Linked DNA regions of Homo sapiens: all the other regions are linked to region 3. Evidence: promoter capture Hi-C in 16 types of primary human blood cells and fetal thymus (Javierre and others, 2016). All regions are on one chromosome and are shown on one strand. The core of a region is centred on a gene start or on the middle of the fragment in contact, and the rest is flanking DNA. Distances in the headings are between cores, read along the strand shown. Region 1 has its middle 160 kb from the start of TFPI. Region 2 has its middle 140 kb from the start of TFPI. Region 3 holds the start of LINC01090 (long intergenic non-protein coding RNA 1090).

What was found. Contacts are between HindIII fragments. The CHiCAGO score rates a contact against its expected background, and 5 or more counts as called.
Region 1: a contact is called between a fragment that was not itself captured here and the fragment with the promoter of LINC01090 in region 3, in 1 of 17 cell types (M1 macrophages). The highest score is 5.5, in M1 macrophages.
Region 2: a fragment that was not itself captured here is called in contact with the fragment with the promoter of LINC01090 in region 3 in 1 of 17 cell types (M0 macrophages); the score reaches 5.6 in M0 macrophages.

What each region holds. Positions count from the first base shown.
Region 1 is chr2:187,710,830-187,715,018 of GRCh38, reverse strand. No RefSeq gene overlaps it. Among named protein-coding and RNA genes, the nearest start is that of TFPI, 160 kb to the right of the region's middle. The HindIII fragment of the contact is 264 bases long and covers 1,944-2,207 here.
Region 2 is chr2:187,689,887-187,693,728 of GRCh38, reverse strand. No RefSeq gene overlaps it. Among named protein-coding and RNA genes, the nearest start is that of TFPI, 140 kb to the right of the region's middle. The HindIII fragment of the contact is 983 bases long and covers 806-1,788 here.
Region 3 is chr2:188,286,272-188,290,375 of GRCh38, reverse strand. It overlaps LINC01090 (long intergenic non-protein coding RNA 1090), which reads left to right and starts at 2,685. Exons shown (of 3, transcript NR_126396.1): 1 at 2,685-2,909. The HindIII fragment of the contact is 11,348 bases long and covers 1-4,104 here.

The sequences.
Region 1 (4,189 bases), core at 826-3,325, 570 kb after region 3:
TAGATGTAATAAATACATATTTATTATAAAGAATTGGCTCATATGATTATAGAGCCTGAGAAATTTTAAGACCTGCAGTAGGCAAGCTGGAGACCAAGGAAAGCCAATGGTGTAGTTCCAGCATGAGTCCAAAGGTCTGAGAACAAAAAGAGCTGATGGTGTCTGTTCCAGTCCAGAGGTCAGCAGTCTTGAAACCTAAGAAAAGCTGATTTTTTTTTTTTTAGTTCAGATTTGAAGGGAGGAAAAGACCAATGTTCTATCTCAAGGCAGTCAGGTAGGAGGAGTTCTCTCTTACTTAGTTATTTTGGTTGATAAAAGTCGTTAATTTATTGGATGTGATCCATCCACATTGGAGAGGGCAATCTATTTTACTCAGTCTACAGATTCAAATGTAAACTTCTGCTAGAAACACCCCATATAGACACATCTAGAATAATATTTGGCCAAAGTTGGGCACCCGTGGTCCAATCAAGTTGACACATAAAATTAAGCATCATATATTTCTTCCCTAAAAGTTCTAATATATTATGAAATTTACTTACATAATGTATGTTTGGATTATCCACTTTACCAGAACATGAGTTCCACAAAAACAGGGCTTTTGGTCTTCTTTGATCATTCTTTTATACCCAACATTTAGAAAAGTTCTCCACACAAAGTATATTGCTCCACAAATTGCTGCTGGATAAATATTGTTATATCAATATTTTGTATTAACATTATGACTTCTTATACTGTAAAGCTACACCTTCCCAAATGTTGGTTTTGGACACACGTATTGCTCTTAAATGACTGGGAAGTGTGATTATGGTGGAAACAGAAGAAAGAAGACTTGCTTTGTTTTGTAGTCTAGGAGGGTTTCATAAAGAAGATGAGACAAGTTGTGCCCTGAAGGATTAGTTGGAATTGTGGTGACTTCAGAAGAAGATGGAATACGTTACAGGAAAAAGAAACGACTTAAAAAAATGGGAAGAGGGAAAAAGTGCAAACATATAAAAAGAGGAAGAGAGTTGATCAAATTGGAACCAATTAGAATTTTTATAAAAGGTTTGGGAAGGAAGGAAAGCAGTAACAGTTTTGTCTTAATGATGTTTGAGGAGAAAATGTCTGAAGTTATGGTTTTAGAGTTGAAGTTGTATTTTAAAGTCATAAATGCTGTGTCCAGGGTTTTTACATTATCTTGTGATGAAAGGGAAGTCATCAAAAGTCCTCAAAGAAGATAACAGCATGACATATGTAAAATGTAAGAAAATTAATCTCACCATGTTAGATAGCTCATAATGATAAAGAGATTATGCAAAGAAAATAAATAGATGACTGATATTTTATTCACTGTAATTTTAGTTCTTCCACTAAGAAAAAGCAAAATCAATTATTTTTCAAATAAAAGGGCATTTGTTACCAAAGAAATATATTTATTTTTGAGGAGATCAACATACTGGAGACTAACAAAGTTTGGGAGTCTCGGGAAGCACCACCTCCCATATGTCTTCATGTCACTCTTGTTTAACTGTTCAGGGCCCAGAACAGGATCTCTAGACTGAAGCTGAGAATAGGCACTGAGAAGCTCTTTGTTAAATGACATACAGATTTATACTTTCTGACAACTACGATGCTATTTTTTTCTTAGATCATTATTGAAGATCCCTGCAAATAAAATATAAGTCAAAAAGTGGAAGTAATCCATCCTTAAAGTGGATGGATCAGACCTGTGAAATCAGTTTTTCTTCTAGAAAATAAATAATGAGCAGTGAATTAGTACTGGCTGTACTTTAAGCTGCAGCGATGTCTGCTGTTCCAGTACAAATAGTATTACTTTGTTATTAAAATCAAAGCCATTTCCTTGGTTCTAAAGACAACTTCTCCATCAGCACACTCCATTACTCTGAAAAGTACTGGGTGAACAATGCATTTATAATCGTTTAAAATAGCAGTGTTAAGCTTGTGTGATTGTGTGTATGTGTGCGTGTGCTAAACATACTACTTCAACAAAAAAGGGATTAGGATTAAAAGCAGGGTGAAATCAGAGAAAATGGGAAGGAAGAGAAAACTCAAAAGTTGTATTATGAAAACAAACTTTGAGTGTGATTTTGTCAAAACAAGTTGATTGACAACTCTTTCCATTCTATCCAAATACAGAATGAGAAGACTTCTCTCAAAAGAAAGTCTAGAATTCTATGGTTGTGAAAAGTTGTGACTGGAAAGCTTGGCAAATAAGTCTGCTGCGGTAAGTATAATTAAAAATGCAAAGCCAGTCACCTTTATGTATTGGCTTAGAATTCAAGTAAAAACTGGAATTTCAATATACTTTATACGATAAGAGGTGATATTTTTTCTTTCTGAAAAATAATTTTAATGTATCTTCAATTTGTCAATGTCTTACTTGAACTGCACTAAAGGGACCATAATTATAAGTCATATATTAAAGGAAACACAAGATTTAGCATAAAGATGAAATATAATTTTGTAAATTAAGCAATTTTTGTTCCATGATGCTTTCACTTTGTCTTATGTTGTAGAAACCATTATTATATTAAAACTTTTGATTCACAATCATGAAATCTAACTGAAAAGTATTTCTCATATCCAAATGCAAAATGTATACCTAAGATAACTGACTAATTTGAAGCTTGATGTTCTCAATTTTCAAGGCGATTTGTTGAAAATATACTCTGTTATTTGATTAAATAATAGTTTCAGTATTAGCTGCTCTCATTTTTTAAAACTAAATAATGTAGTTTGTAGCAATAAAAAACATGTTTTCTTTTATCTTTTTTTAGAGACAAAGTCTTGCTCACCCAGGCTGGAGTGCAGTGGCATGATCATAGTTCACTGCAGCCTTGATCTCCTGGGCTCAAGTGATTCTCCCATCTCAGCCTCCCGGTAGTTAGGACTATAGGCATAAACCACCATGCCCAGCTAAGTAAAAACAAACAAACAAAAAAACAAAACAACAACAACAACAACAACAAAAACCTTTTTGTAGAGATTGGTCTCAATATATTGCCCAGGCTAGTCTCCAAAGATCCTCAAGCAATATTGCCACCTTGGCCTTCTGAAGTGCTGGAATTACAGGCATGAACCACCTTACCCAGCCACAATGAAACATTAGTTGCAAAGGTATGTTATAATGTTGAATAAATAATTCACCATTAGTACAAAATAGTATGATACTCAGGTTATGTTCAAAAAATGTCCTAGCATGTGAACAGTTGTAATAAATTACTGATTTCTTGAACTGCAAGGACTATAATATCTTCTTAGAAATGTATTCTGGGTTAAAAAATAATAATCTGCATAATATCTGAAACCTATAGTATCTTTGGCAAAGAGAGAGGCAACTGATTTTTTTTTATTTGATGATGGTTTTATTTTCAAAGCTATAATTAAATGAGATAAAAATATACAGTTGAAGTGCCAAAGCAACTTAAACATAAATAACAGCTGCTCCTCATCTGAGAATTTCATTTATATATACAACTTTTGTTATGCCCTTAAAGATTTTTAACCAGTATACAGCTAATTCAGCATCCATTATCCCAAGATATGCTTTATACTCAAAGAGGATAGAAAAGAGAAGAGAAGCATTTCCTGGCATCCATGCTCTACAGATAAATTTTGCTTTAAAAGCAAATAGGAGACTCTTCACTATGTACAAAGTTTCAGGTTTTTGAACCAATAAAGTAGGATTGATGACTCATTAAAAAAATCCCAGTCATGGCTGGATTCATTGCTCCTAAGAAACTGGACATGATTTGCATTATAGCTATTTTAGGGAAATCAAAGCTATGAGAAGTAACAGGTTTGTTTAATCACTAGTGCAACTGATATTTTTTTTGTGATACTAGTCAAAAGCAGTGGCATTGGTGAAGGAGGAAAAGAGGGTAGTAGTGGAATTCCCCCACTGTTTGTGGAAAGGCAGCCAGAGCTGAGAGGGCTTTAGGGATGTTGAAAAGACACTGCAGATGACAAAGTGGCTGCTAGTGGGTGAAAAAACAACTTCAGCTAAGAGATAGTGTACTAAGTGTTCTTTTTATCTTTATTATCTGGTGTCTCCTAAAATAACTCCCCATTAACTGAAATAATCTCATCATGCATGTTTCTTGAAAATTTAAACTGAGTAACCCACACAAACATGATGATCCCCAGTATATGTATTCTGTTTTATAAGTTTGCCTGCCAAAATCAT
Region 2 (3,842 bases), core at 48-2,547, 600 kb after region 3:
GTGTTCTTGGATAAAAATGTGTTAAATGCTATTTTTGACAATTTATATATATTTCAAATTTTAAAGCTATTATTCAGACAGCATGGATGTAGGAAAATTGTGTATGTGTATATTCTTCTATCTGCTCCTACATATGTATGTGTTTACATATATATAACATTTAATACATAACATATATCATATGGAATGAGTTTCATTTCATACATAACATATTCATATACATATATAGATTACTAGTTATCAAAATATTATTGCAATCATATTTTTGGTAGCACACTGTTACATCTAATTTACACATATTTATCAGAATTTTCATTTGTTCTTTCCAAGAATGTAAGGGTATATAAGGTAGTTTTTCCCATTTTGCACATGAGGAATTCAAGGCTTAGAAAAGTTTGAAACTTGCTAATGGTCACAGCCATTATTAAAATTCAAATTGATCTGGTGACAAATATGTATTTTTTCCACCATATTCTGCTATTTTGACTTTTTAAAATGTTAAAGCTTACAATTTATTTTCAGTTAATTATGTTTCCTATTTTCTTAATATATTATACTAGCGGCATATTCATTCTAATCTATAAAAGTAGAGATAAAACATTTAGTGATTTTATCTGGATAGGTTAGTAAATTAACTTATGGTAATTAACAACTGTCTTGGTCTTTTTGCTATATGTACAAACATTTTCTAAATTATATAGGTTGGAGATACACACATATAAAACCCATATACAAATCTTATAAGAAAAGACATAAATAATAATGAGCCATGATATAGAATATAGGAATATAAAGTCAGTAAGCTTGGCTGTTGTGTGATGTTGCTAAAAGTTTCATCCTTGAAATAGGATTAATATACCTTTTTTTAATCAATAGTTTTGAAAATGTAAGAGTATCACATATTCAAAAACATTTTGTAATTTGTATAAATCTCAATGTTAGCATAAAATTATTCTAAAATTAAATTTTGAGTTTTGAATAGTGTGGATTATGCTATAATGATTATAAATATAACTATTCTTACATAGAAATACATATGCTATAAATAAAACAATAAATTACTGTTATTATATAGATATCATTTATACAATAATTATTACAAACCTTTACATTTTACCTTGATAATCTGAACATTGATCATCTACTACAAACTATTCTTAAGATAATGTATAATTGTTGCAATCAGAGCTGAACACAATTTGCATTAAAGTTTGTTCTTTCCATTACTGTACTATAATGTCAGTGAAAAAAACTCATTTCCTTTTGTATTAGAAACACATTTGGAAGGATTTTAACGATAAATATGCTTCATTTGTTTCTTAGCTAGAATAAATCTCTCTTGAGAACGGAATTTTTAAATTAAATTAATGCATTTGAAAATGTTTCTAAACTTTTATAAATCATTAAAGTCTTCATAGTTTATTATTGTTTCATGCTACAGAACAAATTTGAATTTAGAGAAGTCTTTTGATACATCAGAATCCAAAGTCAAAATCTGAAACATTATACATATTTATGTATAATTTATATAATTTGAGTAATTACATGCATAGAACATTTATATATGTTTATAATGCATTTTCCCTAACATAATCTCTCTTGGTACTTTCAACTATACATAAAAATTTCAGGGCAATTATTTTCTCTATTTCGAAAGCAAAAGATGTTCACTCTCAAGTACTTTGCCTGAGGTTATACAATGATCCTGTATATGACCTAGGGTTAGAATCTGGATCACCTAAATCCCTCTGATGGAAGTAAGATATTTCTTTCAGTGCTAAAGAAGCTTATAATAGTCTCGTTAGATTTTCTATAATCTCTCTATAAGTGGCATCAAATAGAAATTTCAAGTATTTTAGGTACAAGCTTTTCAACAACGTTGTTGCCAAGCTAACATACACAAAATGAAAGTCCATTTATTATGATGCCCCACTGACAATATTCAAATGATAGTAATCATTGAATGCAATACAAATTTTATTTCTATACAATCTAAACTGAAGTGATTTAACATAATATTTATCCAATCAACTAATATTTATTGAGTGTTCAATATGAGCCATACACTGTTCTAAGTACTTAGAATTCATCAGTTAACAAAACAGGCACATATTCTAGCTTGTAGGAAATTAGGATGTTAGCTAGGAGTGACTGGCTTTAAACTATAAGCATGATAGATAAAAGTATGTTGGGTGTTAATAAGTGTTACTAGAAAAAATACAGTAAATAAAGCAGGGACCATAAAAGGTGACAAACATATGATGGAGGGAGGGGTGTTCATTAACAATTTTGCATAGTATGGTAAGGGTAAGGCTCAATGAGCAGGTGATCTTGAACAATGAGTTCATATGGTGGTGCCTGGTGTTTTGGTATATTTTAAGGAGGCAAAAGCAAAGGACTAGAGAAGACGGGGCAATAGAGGAGCAATAAAAGATGAGACAGAAAAGGAAGCAAGAGACCAACTCATGACAGCCTAACACGGCCTCAACGTTTGTAGTAAATCAAACAGGAAGTCCCTGGAAGATTTTAAAGCAGAGGGATAAATTGCCTAATATACATTTTATCAGATTCAGCAATGAATGTTGTGTTGATCATACAAAGTAGATAGGCAACTTGGGAAGCAGGGGGACCAGTTAGGAAGATAGTGAACTAAGTGAAGTAAGGGACGGTAGTGGCGTAAACAAAGCGGAAGTCGTAAAAGAGGGGTCCAATCCAATTTTAGGTATATCAGAACCAATTTTAGGTATATTGGGAGAAAAATGCAATGTCATGACAGATTGGATGTGGAATATTAGGGAAGAAGTCAAGGATGATGGTGATGGCCGGGTGTGGTGACTGACGCTTGTAATCCCCACAGTTTGGGATGCCGATGCGGGCGGATCACCTGAGATCAGGAGTTCGAGACCAGCCTGGCCAACATGGTGAAACCCCATCTCTACTAAAGTTACAAAACTTAGCCAGGCACACTCCTGTAATCCCAGCTATTCAGGAGGCTGAGGCAGGAGAATTGTTTGAACTCGGGAGGTGGAAGTTGCAGTGAGCTGAGATACCATGCCACTGCACTCCAGCCTGGGCAACTGTAGCCAGACTGCGTCAAGAAAAAAAAAAAAAAAAAAAAAGACAAAAGAATGATGGTGAGGTTTTCGTCCTGAGTAACCTGTGGAATGGATTGCCATCAATGAGATGGGGCCGGCTCTGGGTAGGAACAGATTCAGTGTAGGGAGGTATCAGGCTTATTTGGTTTGAGATATAGTATGTTCCATTTGCCTATCAGTTTTATCAAATATGCAATTGGATATATAAGACTGGAGCTACAGGAAATGGTCTGGACTGAAAATGTGGGAATAATTGCTATTAGAGATAGTATACAATATTATAAGATTGAGTAAGACCAGCAAAACAGAGAGTGTAGTTAGAGAACAGAAAAGGGCCAATGACAGGCCTGGATCACTCCAATGTTGTGTGCTGAGAGAAGAGAAAGAATCAGGGGAAAAAAAAATCCCAGTGAACTAGTGTAGTATAATGAAAAGCAATGAAGTGGAGTTTCCTAGAAGCCAAGCGAAGAAACTTTTATAAATTACTGTACACTGTAAACTAAATGAATTTCAGCGGGTTGGAAAGAGCAAACACCTTTATTGGTGATTGAAGAGAGAAATAGGGGGAGAGGAATTAGAGCATGAAAATGTAAAGAAGTCTTTCGGGTTTTCCTGCAAAGAGAAACAATGAAGTGCAACAAAATTTTATGGTGTTTTTAAAAAATAAAATAATTAACATTTTTCGTTTATATGCCAATGGGGTATGGTCCAATAGAGAAGGAGAAATTTATGATGTAAGAGAGGTTA
Region 3 (4,104 bases), core at 1,436-3,935:
TTAATCTCAGGACAAATGCTAGTTTTTTTCTGTAAATAACTCTTAAGCAATTAATTTATGAACAATCATTAAAAATTAAATAATGTCATTTAGATGATCACTTGGTATCAATGTGATTATAAAAATAAAACAAATGGTAGTCCAGTATTTAGGAATAAGGAGGTTGATGAGATGAACGAATCCATGCTTACATTATATATTTACACATAGATATTTTGGGTTTTTTAGCCATAATATTAAAAGATTATAATAACTCTCGATTCCCAAGAATACATCAACATACCACTACAGTTGGCTGACCCTAGTTTGTGAACAACTAGATCAGTGTTCAGGACACACAATTCAACTTGAACAAGTTCAAGGCCAAAGAACAAAATCAGGCTACAGAGATCAAACTTTCCATCCTGTGAAATAATGGAAAATCCCATAGCATGTACTTATTTCTCATTCATTTGCCTCTAGTACCTGTAAGAAGGTCTTTTTAAAAAATTCTTCCTTACCATATACAATGTTGAAAATCATCTGAACATTTACATAACTAACTCCCATGTTCTCAGGGATGAGACCCTATATACTCCTTCTAAGTAAGAGTTATTTACTACTCCGGCCTCATCCTCAGTTTCCTAAAGGCATATCATAGCCTCTTTAGAGATCTGTCTTTCCTATCCATAAGACTTGGAAGATCCTAAAGAGGGAAAAAAAAATATGGCTACAAAGCACATCCATCATGAATGGATAAATGAAGATAGATGAGTCCTCATAACTGTCTTTTTCCAATCGTTACATACAGTGCTAAAGATTACTCACTTTTATATTTTCTCCCACTGTTTAAAGTCTTTAAACTTGCTATTGCTTTGTAATTTTTATAACCTGACTTTTGATATGATCTTCTTTGTGAAATGGCTTAGAGGTATAAAAATCTCAAGAGTGTCAGAACCAAGTTTTTAAAAACAATAGAACCAAATGGAACAAGATTTTAAAACAAATTTATAGCATGCCCCAGGAAGTGAAGAAGGGAGATGCCAAAGAAAAGGGTTGCAGAAGCCTAGCAGGGCACTACGATGACAAATACGCCTAATTTTACCTACTGCAAATACCTCAGATTTCCATTTGAAAGTTCTTCACATTCATCATAGGTTCATATAGACCCTGATAGAAACTCAGCAGCTTTCCAGTAATTTTTATTTTTATTTATTTATTTATTTTTTTTTTTTGAGGCGGAGTCTTGCTTTGTCGCCCAGGCTGGAGTGCAGTGGTGCGATCTTGGCTCACTGCAAGCTCCGCCTCCGTGTTCACACCGTTCTCCTTCCTCAGCCGCCCGAGTAGCTGGGACTACAGGCGGCCGCCACCATGCCCGGCTATTTTTTTTTTTTTTTTTTTTTTTTTTTGTATTTTTAGTAGAGACAAGATTTCACTCTGCTAGCCAGGATGGTCTCAATCTCCTGACCTCGTGATCCACCCGCCTCGGCCTGCCAAAGTGCTGGGATTACAGGTGTGAGCCACCACGCCTGGCCTCCAGTATTTTTAAATTAATTTTCTTGCTCAAACCAGAATTAAGTTTCTCTTACCCTAACTAAGGGAACTTTGGCTAAGACAAAAAAACGACCTGTTACTTACCTTAAGAAAACCAATTTTATTTCTGATTATTGCAAAAGCACACAAAAAATATGCTGGTTGTTTAGCCCTATATTTCTGCAAAACCAACATTTAAAGTATTTGACAACTTTTTAAAAACTGTAATGAAAACCAAGACTGAAATTCAAATTTCAGTCATGTGATTTGAAAGGGGGTCATGTTTCTGTTTGTCATGTGTAACAGTGGCCAAATATCCTATGAGTTCCTAGGGGCTCTGGGTTCCAAAGTTACTGTGTTACATTTACCTTCAAACCTCTATCATTTTATCTGTCATTCTGAAAGAATCGCTTTATTTTGATCTTCTTGATTAAGAACATGAAACATGACCATTGCAAAAAAAGAAAAAAAAATAGGAGGGCAACTGCAAAAGGGAAATAAATATCACCTGTATTCCCATCACCAAAAGTACCTATTGCTCACATTTTCTCTATATGCTCCAAGGTTTGTTGAGGCCTCTGAGAGACCCGGATAAATAGTATCCCTTCTTTATGCCTGGGTGGGGAATAAATTGACCAAAAAAATGAGAGCAAAATATTACTCTATGATTGACAGATAACGGATTTGAATTGGTAGATCCAAAAGCAAAGAACTGAAACAGCAGCCTCAGTCAACGTAGTTCCTGGCCTCCTTCTAACCTGAAAGGAGACAGTGCCTTTGAAAAAGGATTTAAATTGTTTTTTGAGTTCTATTCCAAAGAATGAAAGAGAGAGAAAGGTAGTTGAGCCTGGCATGCCCAGCAATTCTTCCCAAGTTTATTCCTAAGTTTATCTACCAAATGTCATAACATCTCTCCAAGGGCAAGTAAGTAAAGACCCAGTAAAATATTTTTGCATGGAAACCAGGAGTAGAGGAAAGGCATTACCCAGCACCCACAGACACTTAACAATTTTCTTTCCATTTTTTTCATGTGGAAGTATAACGTACATACTACTCCTTTTTTTTTTTTTTTTTTTTTTTTTTTTGAGACGGAGTCTCCCTCTGTCGCCCAGGCTGGAGTGCAGTGGCGCGATCTCGGCTCACGGCAAGCTCCGCCTCCCGGGTTCACGCCATTTTCCTGCCTCAGCCTCCTGAGTAGCTGGAACTACAGGCGCCGCGCCACCACTCCCGGCTAATTTTTTTATTTTATTTTATTTTTTATTTTTAGTAGAGACGGGGTTTCACCGTAGCCAGAATGGTCTTGATCTCCTGACCTCGTCATCCGCCCGCCTCGGCCTCCCAAAGTGCTGGGCTTACAGGCGTGAGACACTGCGCCCGGCCCATACTACTACTTTTTTGTAAGTATTCTTTCAAAATATTTATTTTCATATGCATTTTTCGTTTACCTAAATGACATCATGTAAACTATTCCATCTTGGCCCTTAATTTTTTTTCTCCAAACACTTAAATTTTCAAATAATCTTAGTGAAAAATTAGCAGCTCAATCGCTTTAATTTTTATTACTTTCACTGTTAATAAAACTGAATAAGTTTTCATAAAGTTAATAACCGTTTATATTTTCTTTTGTGAGGTGGCTATTTATATATTCTGTACATTTTTCTCTTTTCTCTATTGTTTCATATATTTTTTCTTTTTCTTATTGATTTTTAAAGGTTCTGTATGAGGTAAATATATTAACCTCTAGCCAAAAAACGGGTATTTGTCTTATTAACTTAATTAAAATAATTAAATTATTTTGTTCTATTTTAAAACTATGTAGAATTTCTTTAAATGTAATCGGTTTATGATTTCTTGAGTTTTTAAAAAATATAATGACATTTCACCCAAACTAATTAGCAATATTTTCTTCTAGTATTTTGTAGTTTTCGTTTTTCAATTTATTCTGATGTGAAATCTAAAGATAGGGCTTTTGTTTCCCCCAGAATAATGACCTAGGTGTCCAACACCACATATTGAATAGATCCATTCTTTGTCCAGTGATTTTAGCAGTAATTTTTATCATATGTTAACTTAGATATAAAACAGGGTCTGTTCAATCAGAACTTCCAGGTGTGGTCAAACAGCATGCAAAATGCAGTAAGACACCTAAAAAAGGTCCAGTGCAGAATAAAATCCAGCCAAGCTCTTTTGCCAGCCAAGCCAATGGAGCTTGCGAGCAAGAAGAAAGGGATATCTTTTCTAACTACAAAGGCATCTTCGGCTCCTAGCCAAGCACCTGCAGAGCTTCCTTGGAAAGAATTGGGCATCATGTGGGCTAGCGGTAGTCCTTTCCCATTTAATAGTCAGTGTATTTCTGCAATAGAACATTATTAATTATCTCAAACTATCATTGTTTAAAATATCTACTGGGGCAAATTCTCCTTTATTATTTTCTCCCCCTTTCAAAGGTTTCATCACTATTCTCTCAAAGTTATTTTTCCAAATGAACTTTGGATCCATTCTGTTAAGTTTCCTTGTCACAACTTCCTATTTCCTACCTTTGCCCACAAAAGTCTTCTGTTAGAAGTGTGTTCAACTCATGTATCAATTTAC